Linked DNA regions of Homo sapiens: all the other regions are linked to region 2. The links are contacts of gene promoters, found by promoter capture Hi-C in human tissues and cell types (Jung and others, 2019). All regions are on one chromosome and are shown on one strand. Each heading gives the region's core, a stretch centred on a gene start or on the middle of the fragment in contact. The rest is flanking DNA. Distances are from core to core; before and after follow the strand shown.

Region 1 (3,426 bases), core at 735-3,234, 36 kb after region 2:
CCATATTCTTCCTAGGCAATCTCAGCTGGGTTCACTGATTCAATTATCACCTAAAAGACAATGACTCACAAATTGATCTCTAGCTAAGACATCTCTCTTAAGCTCCAGATTCCTGCTTATTGCTTACTTAATATTTCCACTTGGATGCCTCATAGGCATCTCAAGCTCAACAAATACGAAAACGAACTTATCCTCCATTTAAACCTCCCAGTGTCCTTCTCAATGGCACCACTATTCATCCAGTTGCACAGGTCAGTTATTCTTAACTCCTTCCCCTTCTTTCCCCCATAGGTTCCCACTCTGAAATCACTAAGTCAAGTGGAATTTACCTCCTAAACAAAAGTCTATCCTGTCCTCTCTGTCTACATGTCCAACATCCCAACCCAAGTCAAAGTAAATTCTCAGCACTCATTTCTTATCCCTTCCAATCCTTTCTTCTTCATACTGCAAAGCAATTGTTTCTTTCTTTTTTTTTTTTTTTTTTGAGACGGAGTCTCGCTCTGTCACCCAGGCTAGAGAGCAGTGGCGCGATCTCGGCTCACTGCAACCTCCGCCTCCTGGATTCAAGTGATTCTCCTGCCTCAGCCCCCCAAGTAGCTGGGATTACAGGAGCACGCCATCACGCCCGGCTAATTTTTGTATTTTTAGTAGAGATGGGGTTTCACCATGTTGGCTAGGCTGGTCCTAAACGCCTGACCTTGTGATCTACCCGCCTTGGCCTCCCAAAGTGCTGGGATTATGGGTGTGAGCCACCACACCCGGCCTAGAACAACTGTTTCTAACATGCAATCTGATTTTTGTCACATTACCTTAAACATTTTAATGGCTTCCATCACTGTTAGGATAAAGAACAAAATCTCTACAATGGCCTACCAGGTCCTGTATTACCTGAACTATGCCTTTTTTTTCAGACAGATCTAATCTCACTCCCCCCACTTGGCTCTACACAAGTTAGCCTCATTGGTTTTCTTCAGCTCCTAAAAGCACCAAACTCTTTTCCACTTCAGGGCCTTTTGCACATTATTCTTTTTGCTGGCAGAACTATTCCCTGCTCATGTTCTTGCTAACTCCTGCACTTCCTTTCATTTCCAGTTTACATGTCATTTTCCTAGGGAGGACTTCCCTCGTAAATTCTTCCTGTTAATAGGTTCCTGTTAAAACTACATTTCTCCCTTTATAGCACTATGACAATTATATTTATTTTTATTTTTTTGTTGTCTGTTAACTGCTAGATAAGTTCTCTATATGGCCAGTATCTATCTTATTTTCCAATATATATCTAATGCCTAGCAGAGTTCCTGACATATAATGTCTGCAATAAATATTAAGTGAATGAACTATCAATCTCTTCTATGTAACTTTTGTGTCTGTTATTTGAGAACTCACATGCTGTGATTCAATGTGCAACCCAAAATTCATGTGTTGGAAACAATCGGCAATGCAACTGTGTTGGGAGGTGGAGCCTAATGGAAGGTGTTCAGGTCATGAGGACTCCACTCTTATAAGCAGATTCATGCTGCCATAAAAAGAGCTTGTGAGAATGAATTCACTCTCTTCCGCCATGTTAGAACAGTGTTCCTCCCTCAGGAGGATGCAGCATCAAGGACCCATCTTGAAAGCAGAGATTGGTCCTTCACCAGACACCTAAGCTGCTGGCACTTTGATCTTGGACTTCCCAGCCTCCAGAACTGTGAGAAATAATTTCTGCTCTTTATAAAGTACCCAGTCTTAGGTATTGTTATAGCAACAAAAAATGAATAAAGACACCACATTTTTTCACATTATACTCTCTCTCTCTCTCTAAAATACTAAGTTAGAGAATAGTCGATAATTCTTCATTTTAAGGAAGGAATTGTTTGAACAGTGACTTTCCTAGGTCACTGATACTATTTAATTAACTATTTGAGAGGAAGGGAAATAGAAAAAACTAGAAACAAATATGTATTTCAGTAAGTCAGCAAAACATGCTATATTTTAGGGACATATCCAGATAATAATTATGAATCCTGATAATGTTCTCATTTATTTCATGGACTAAAGGTATCCCTAAATAGAATCAGAAATGCATTTTTAACATGGCCAGCAAACTGTCATTTGAGATGTGTCTTGGGGAGTATGTTGGTTCCTAACGGACTAGGCTGGTTCCTGGGACAGTGAAATGTAAACATAGAGAAATCAGAGAGACACTAAAATATTTTTGTTTGTCTAATTTGAAAGGAGGGAGAAGGCCGGGCACAGTGGCTCATGCCTGTAATCCCAGCACTTTGGGAGGCCGAGGCAGGCGGATCACCTAAGGTCGGGAGCTTGAGACCAGCCTGACCAACATGGAGAAACCCCGTCTCTACCAAAAAAAAATATATATATATATAAAATTAACCGGGTGTGGTAGTGCATGCCTGTAATCCCAGCTACTCAGGAGCCTGAGGCAGGAGAATTGCTTGACCTGGGAGGCGGAGGTTGCGTTGAGCTGAGATCGCGCCATTGCACTCCAGCCTGGGCGACAAGAGCGAAACTGTCTCAAAAAAAAAAAAAAAAAAAAAAAAAGAAAGAAAGAAAGGAGGGAGAAAAGGAAGCGACAAGAGAAACTTGAAGGAAAAAAAGACTACAGAATTGACAATTAATGTCTGAACTCAGGCGTCAGTGGCAGATGTCCTAGAATATAAGTTATATTTGTCAAAACGTTTTAGAAAGAGAACTAAATAAGCCTAGTCCCCAAATAGAGAGGGCTTCCGGGCAAAGCTACAAAGTCTAGCACAGGGTATCCAGGCTTACTTTTGCCACCTCTCTGAAAGCAGGAATATACCCCAAGGTTCTACCCTGCCTCGCCCCCTGCCGGCCCATATTAGTCCCTTTAGGTTTACTGGTCTTTTGGGACCACAGTGTGGAGGACATATCACCAAACAGCTTCACAGTTTTGGCATGCTTTGTACTATTCAAGTCAGTAAGGCTGCCTAACTACTCTTCCTCTAAAGTTAGTGAAAAACACAGGCATATAAGAGAGGCATAATGAAAAGTCATTTCTTTTCCACCCTAAAGTGATGGCTAAAGGTTGATATGACTACAAGTATCAGCTTGCTATGTGAGCAACACCTACTGATCCACTTTCCATTACAAAACCTGATATGGGATAGAATTTTTGGGACTTGAGCTGCAAGGATAAATCTTTTTCAAGCAACTTATTTGCATTAAAGACTGATGATTGTTCTGGAAAGAATTTACTTTCATGAGAGAAAAAGTCTAGGAAGCAAAGTTAAGCTAGTAATGAAGTCTTTACCATCCATCATAAAGAAGGAGTGATTCTGAGTACTGCATGGTGTCACTTGTATTTGCCTCCGGTGGATTTGTATCTAAGCACAAGGAGGATGCAAGGGTAGTAGGAAAAATAGCTAGTTCCTTTAAAAGTTTGCAAGATACTGGAGGAAGTGG
Region 2 (3,334 bases), core at 708-3,207:
TCTGAATAAAGTTGCAACTTAGAGTGTGTGTTCTTGTGAAATCATTAAATTAAACAGCCTAATAATGGTTTGGCAACTTGCTTTTCTCTTTCAAGTCTTTAATCTTTTATTCAGAGGATGCTTTGTTTTCTGGGAAGCACCAGGATAATGTGGCAATGCTTTAAAAAAAAAAAAAAAACTGGCTTTACTTCAGCAAGCTTTCCTGGGAGACTCTAATGGCAGAGACTGTTGAAATAGAAATGCCTCATGAACACTGGCCGCCCCATAGTGTCTCACTTCCCTCTTTCCAGCCAGTGATTAACAGCTCTTAATGAATTCAGAGGACTGCATGGCTAGATTCTGGGGTGACTGGTGCAGGCTGATGGAGAAGGGGTTGAACTGCATAAAATAAACAAAACAAAATAGTGCTCCAGAAAAAGCACGGGGCCGGGTGCAATGGCTCATGCCTGCAATCCCAGCACATTGGGAGGCTGAGGCAGGGAGATTGCTTGAGCCAGGAGTTTGAGAGTAGCCTAGCCAACATAACGAGACCCCGTCTCTATATAAAAAAAAAAAAAATACAAAAATTAGCTGGGCATGGCAGTGCGCACCTGTAGTCCCAGCTACTAGGGAGGATGGGGTGGGCAGGTCACTTGAGCCCAGGAGTTTGAGGCTGCGGTGAGCTGTGATCGCATCGCTGCACTCCAGCCTGGGTGTTGGAGTGAGACTCTGTCTCAAACAAACGAACAAACAAAAAAGTGCTGAACCTTTGGTTTCTTCATCTTTAGAATGGAATGGGGATAACAGTAACTGACCTGCCTACTTCAATGCTGTTATCAAGAGGATCAAATGAAATTGAGAAAGTAGAACTGCTTTGTGAAATATGAAGTACTATACAAATGTAGAATACCATAAAATATGGGCTGCATCTTCAAGCACTTCAGCATATGACACAAAAACAATCATGTGTTTCATGAACATTTATAGAGCACTCACTGCGTGCCAGAGAGAACGGGTGCTGGGGAGATAGACATGAACAGGACGCAGCCCTTTCCCTCAGGCCTTTGCTCAAATGAAATCTTATTAGAGAGGTCTTCTGTGAGTACCTTAACTCAAACAGCACCTCCTCCACCTGGCTTTGTCTTTCCCCACAGCATGTTTCACTATATATATTCACTTATTTACTTAACAGTAAATACATTCTATATATTTGCTTATCTACTTGTTTTAAATTTTCTATATATTTAGTTATTTACTGTCTGAACCCCCGCGCACCCCTCCTACATAAACATACTAGAAGTAGATCCATTTGGGCCGGGACTTAGTAATGTTCACAGCTAGGACATTTTTGCATAAAATAGAGTTTAGAACACAGTAGCTGCTCAAAAAACATTTGTTGAATAAATGCACTCAGAGCAGGTCCAGAGTTTAGGCAAAGGTGAGCTGAATTACCCTGGGAGGTGATTGCAGGAGAGGAAAAGAACAACCAGGCCATGGCAGATGGCATTTTGGTCCAAGGGAGAGAGGGAACCTTGATTATTGGGTGAAAATAATAATAATAATAATAGGAGTCTTTCCTGAATCCCATTTGCTGTCCCCAGGGAGGAAACCACTCCTCCTGTGGAAGTCCTCCTGTCGCTGCCCCTTCACTTGGTCATATGGAGTTGTCATGGCCTGTCTCCTAGACCGGCTCCATGACTTCCTTGTCTACTGGCACCCCAGCATTTAGCCCAATGCTCGGCATGTAGGGAGTGGACACTTCACACCCCAAGCTCCCTCGATCTTCTCACTCAGTCCAGAGCTTAGTATCTGGCCTCCCCGACACCCTCTCACCACCCCTGTCAACCCTTGTGATGCTCACCCTCACCTGTATTTCTTCATTTATTTCTCCATCTTTGGGAGAAGGGCTCCTGGCACTCCAGGGCCTTACTTCTCCTGGATCTCACTTCTGGTTTCTCCAAGCTCCTCCAAGCAACTCAGCAGCGAAGCTTGCCCTGCGGGAATGTGTTAGCTGGTCTCCAAGGTAACAGACTGCACCACTGCAGCTCGGGGCAGGGAAAGGGAAAACCTTCCTCACCCCAGGGAAGAAGTCACCAGCTGTGTTGTTGATAACCACTTCTCCCAGGTCACTCTGCTTTTCTCCACCTCACAAAAACCTGGAAGCAGGATTTAGACCTCTTTTCTAATTTCAGAACCTCTCAGTCAGCACAGAACTATGGTTTAGGCCAGTACAGCCCTGGTGCGTGCCTGTGGCCTTCCTGTGGTAGGAACAGAGGAGAGGTTCCAGAGAACTCTGCCACATGTGTCAAAGGTGGTAACTTTCTCTTCCTTCTCAGATTCCCTTGGGTTCCCTGAACACAGTCCCTGGGAGAGGTCAGACAGTCCCCTATCCCTACCCGGTCCAGCCCCACCTAAACCTGGCTAACACAGCCAAGCTCAGTGACCTCTTCGCATCAGAAGAGATCATCTGCCACAGTGGTTCCTAAGCCCGGATGCCCATGAGAATCACCTGGATTGTTTGCTAGGAAAACATTCCCATTCAGGAGATTGATTCAGAACTGTGAAAAGGTGTGGGAATGTGACTTTTTAACAATGGCCCCAGGTGATTATGATGTAACTAGTCCTTGGCCCATAGCTGGGAATCTCTCCAAACCCTTCTTTTATAGTGGTCAAGAGAGACAAAGTGATGTCACCAAAGTCAACCAACTTGTAAGTCGCTAAAGGATCTGTACTTAGTTTTTCATATCCAGGTCATTTCTCAAATCAGTTTTCACTTTCTGAGAATTTTATAAGTTTTATAAACTTGTAAGTTTTATCAGTTAGAACATGAGGTTGGGTGGTGGCTCATGTCTGTAATCCCAGCACTTTGGGAGGCTGAGGCGGGAGGACTGCTTGAGGCCAGGAATTTGAGATCAGCTTGGGCAACACAGTGAGACTCTGTCTCTACAAAAATAAAATAAAATAAAAATTAGTCAGGTACAGTGGCTTGTGCTTGTAGTCCCAGCTACTTGGAAGGCTGAGGTGGGAGGATCGCTTGAGCCCAAGAGTTCAAGGCTACAGCGAGCTATGATCGCACCACTGCACTCCAGCCTGGGCTACAGAGCAAGACCCTGTCTCAAAAATAAAGAACATATGCCACTTGTGGTAGTCATCATATGGTAGGGAACACCCTTCAGATGTTGACCCCAGCAGCCATGCCTATAGGCCAGGTCAGAAACAACCAACGTGCTCAAAATAGAAACTCCTTATCAACCACTGGTCACTGGGGTTGAGAGCACCATGTATAAGACCACAGCATTTGTTATGTGGCCAGCACCAATAAGGCAGAAAATGAGGAAGATCAGAAAGAGGTAAG
Region 3 (3,760 bases), core at 1,224-3,723, 58 kb after region 2:
CCCGTGGCTTCTATAGTATCAAATTTTTGTTTCGTTTTCCTTTTTAGAGACCAAGTCTCATTCTGTCACCCAGACTGGAGTGCAGTGGTGTAGTCCATAGCTCACTGCAACCTTGAACACCTGGGTTCAAGTGATCCTCCCACCTCAGCCTTTCCAGTAGCTAGGACTATAGGCACGAGCCAACATGCCTGGCTGGTTTTCCTCTTGAGTCTAGCTTTTTCTCAGCATCCTTAAAATGCTGGTGACCTTCAGGGTTCTTTCCTGGGTTCTCTTGTTTCTCCTTACTCTTCTTACTCTCCCTGGAAAATATTCCTACAATAGCTTCCAAAATCAGTCATAGGCTGATGACTTTTCATTCTGTATCTCCAATCCTAGTCTGACTTATGAGTTTCACCTGCCCACTAGGCAGATTCTCTGGTTTGACAACCTCTTCAAATTCAAAATATTAAATTCAGGATTCATATTAAAATAGCCTCCTACTGCCCTTACAATGGGGTCCAAATTCTTAACACAGTGTAAAAGGCCCTTCAGAAAACAATTTGGCAGTTTGTTAAACACTAAATTTGTGGCTGGGTATAGAATTACACCTGTAATTCCAGTGCTTTGGGAGGCCAAGTGGGGGTGGGGGAATACCTTGATGCCAGTAGCTGGAGATCAGCCTAGGCAACACAGTGAGATGCTGTCTCTACAAAAATTTAAAACTTAGCTGGGCACGGTAGTGCACACCTGTAGTCCGAGCTACTCGTGGGGCGGAGATAGGAGCATCACTTGAGCACAGAAGTTCAAGGCTACAATTAGCTGTGATTGGACCACTGCACTCCAGCCTGAGTGACAGAGCAGGACCCTGCCTCTAAAAAAACCCTAAAAACCAAAAAACAAATAAAAATTTTAGGCCAGGCGCAGTGGCTCATGCCTGTAATCCCAGCACTTTGGGAGGCTGAGGCGGGAGGATCTCCTGAGCCCAGGAGTTTGTGACCAGTCTGGGCAATATCAGGAGACCCTGTCTCCACAAAAATACAAAAATTAGCCAGGCATGGTGGTGTGCACCTATGGTTCCCAGCTACTCGAGAGGCTGAGGTAAGCGGATCACTTGGCCCAGGATGTCAAGGCTGCGGTGAGCCATGATTGGGCCACTGCACTGTAGCCTGGGAGAGAGAGCGAGACTCTGTCTCAAAAAATAAATAAGTAAATAAATAAATAAAATTTAAAAGACAAGGATTTCTACTTTTCCAAATTCTATTCGACATGTACTGGAGGTAACATCTAGAGCAATTAAGCGCAAAAACAAATTCTTTAAAACATTATTAGAACTAATAAGCTTAGAAAGATTGCAGGATACAAGACCAATATATAAAAATTAATTGTATTCCTATACACTAGCAGTGAGAAATCCAAAAACTAAGAAGGCAATGCATTTATAATATAACAGCAAGCAAACAACTACAAAAAAGTAACAACTACAACAAAACCCCAAAACAAGAAATCTAGGAATAAATTTAACTAAGCAGGTAACTTCCGATTTCCAGTCAGGCATGTAAGGAGGTTACAAGTTGTCATCCTCATTCATGGAATAAGAAAAATGCTGAACAAAATCAGTATAAACAACTCTTCTTAAATCCATCAGAGAACTGAAGACACAGGGCAAACCGCTGCCTGCAAAATTGGAAAGACAAACAGGTAGATACAAAAAATCACAAGTTATAGGTGCGGAAACCTCAAAACCTCCACAGAAACCTGAATGAAGGTAGGAAAATCTAACCTGTAAGAGGAATTCCTGAGGCTCAGTATGATTAAATCTGAGAGTTAAAAATTCCAGAGGGGCCCAGGCTTGAGCAAGGAGAGTGAGGGCACATTTTTGCATTTTATCTCTAGGAGCCCTATGAGGTCCTCACAGTGAAGATTAAAAAAAAAAAAAAAAAATCCCCTCCTGCTTCTGGCAGGGGAAAGGGGAAATAAGTCATTTTGAAATAAGCCCAGAGCACACTGTTTTCAACAAGGCGTGCCTGAAAAGAAACTATTTCACCGGAGCTGAACTGAATACCCAACTCCAGCCCTCTCTAGCTTTCCTGTCTCACCTAAGTGGGGCAAGGCACCAAGAAGCACTTGTGAAGATCACAGCCCAGGGCACAGGCTCACTCAAAGACTGAGATCTCCTCATAGGATTATAGAACTCTTCCCCTCCCCATGTACCTTACCGTCATTCATATTGACAGGACTCCTGTATGATCAAAGGGGAATATAACTCAAAGAACTGCAGATCTCAGGCCTTATTTAAGAAGTCTAGGCCAGGCGCCGTGGCTCACACCTGTAATCCCAGCACTTTGGGAGGTCAAGGAGGATGGATCACCTGAGGCCAGGAGTTTGAGACCAGCCTGGGCAACATGACAAAACCCCGTCTCTACAAAAAATACAAACAAAATTAGCTGGGTATGGTGGCGCATGCCTGTAGTCTCAGCTACCTGGGAGGCTGAGGTGGGAGAATCACCTGAGACTGGGCAACCACTGTACTCCGCCCTGGGCAACAGAGTGAGACCCTGTCTTTAAAAAAAAAAAAAAAAAAAAAAAAAAAAAACCCAAAAAAACAAACAAAAAAAACAGTTTCTAAACCCCAAAGACATCAAGGGAGATAAAATCTACACACAGGTATATCATATTCAAATTGTAGAAAATCAAAGATAAAGAGGAAATACTGAAAAAAGCCAGAGAAAAAACTACCTTACCTACAGAAGAGCAAAGATAAGAATTACATGAGACTTCTCATCAGGAATCACACGAGCAAGGAGAGAGGAGTGAAATATTTTAAGTGTTGAAAGAAAAATAACATGAACCTAGACTTCTGTATCCAGTAAAATTATCTTTCAAAAATGAAACAGAAATAAAGACTTTCTCAAACAAAAATTGAGAGAATTCTTCACCAGAAAGTTTGTCTTGCTAGAAATGATAACAGATAATCTTTAGAGAGAAAGAAAATGATTTCAGTCAGAAATTTGGACCTACATAAGGAAAGAAAGCACATTACAGAAGGAATAAATGAAGGCAAAATAAAATCTTTTTCTTATTCCTAACTGACAGACAACAGTTTGTTCAAAACAAATAATAGCAACAATGTGTCAGTGATTACAGCTTATGGATAAGTAAAATGAATGACAGCAATAAGGAAGAGGACAAAGGAATTGGGAATATTCTGTTATAAAGTAATTGTACTACTTGTTAAGTGGTATAGTGTCATTTGAAAGTGAACTTAGATTAGTTCTAAATGTACATAGAGTGTCCCCGTGGTCCGTGACTTACAGTTTTTCAACTTGACCATCGTGCAAAACCAGTATGTACTGGAGTACCTATAAAACCAGTTCGTTTTTCACATTTGGTGCCATATTCAATAAATTACAAGAGATATTCAACACTTTATTATAAAATAGCCTTGTGTTAGATGATTTTGCCCAACTATAGGCTAATGTAAGTATTGTGAGCATGTTTTTTATTTTATTTTATTTTTTTGAGATGGAGTCTCGCTCTGCCGCCCAGGCTGTACTGCAGTGGTGCATCTCGGCTCACTGCAAGCTCCGCCTCCTGGGTTCATGCCATTCTCCTGCCTCAGCCTCCCAAGTGGCTGGGACTACAGGCACCTGCCACCATGCCCGGGTGATTTTTTGTATTTTTTTTTTAGTAGAGACGGGGTTTCAAGGTTAGTCAGGATGGTCTCGATCTCCTGACCTCGTGATCTGCCCGCCTCGGCTTCCCAAAGTGCTGGGATTACAGG

Evidence for each region. The method cuts DNA at HindIII sites, captures the fragments that hold promoters and counts their contacts. A contact is called where the count stands out against the background at its distance.
Region 1: a fragment that was not itself captured here is called in contact with the fragment with the promoter of VWA3A in region 2 in 1 of the 25 tissues and cell types used here (dorsolateral prefrontal cortex).
Region 3: a fragment that was not itself captured here is called in contact with the fragment with the promoter of VWA3A in region 2 in 1 of the 25 tissues and cell types used here (H1 embryonic stem cells).

What each region holds. Positions count from the first base shown.
Region 1 is chr16:22,055,484-22,058,909 of GRCh38, reverse strand. The region is part of intron 1 of MOSMO (modulator of smoothened); the gene reads right to left. Among named protein-coding and RNA genes, the nearest start is that of VWA3A, 35 kb to the left of the region's middle. The HindIII fragment of the contact is 8,498 bases long and covers 1-3,426 here.
Region 2 is chr16:22,091,164-22,094,497 of GRCh38, reverse strand. It overlaps VWA3A (von Willebrand factor A domain containing 3A), which reads right to left and starts at 1,957. Exons shown (of 34, transcript NM_173615.5): 1 at 1,847-1,957. The coding sequence starts at 1,860. It overlaps LOC105371129 (a long non-coding RNA gene), which reads left to right and starts at 2,267. Exons shown (of 4, transcript NR_188624.1): 1 at 2,267-2,290. It also overlaps a transcript of MOSMO not described here. The HindIII fragment of the contact is 3,787 bases long and covers 1-3,027 here.
Region 3 is chr16:22,033,557-22,037,316 of GRCh38, reverse strand. The region is part of intron 1 of MOSMO (modulator of smoothened); the gene reads right to left. Among named protein-coding and RNA genes, the nearest start is that of MOSMO, 27 kb to the right of the region's middle. The HindIII fragment of the contact is 4,110 bases long and covers 419-3,760 here.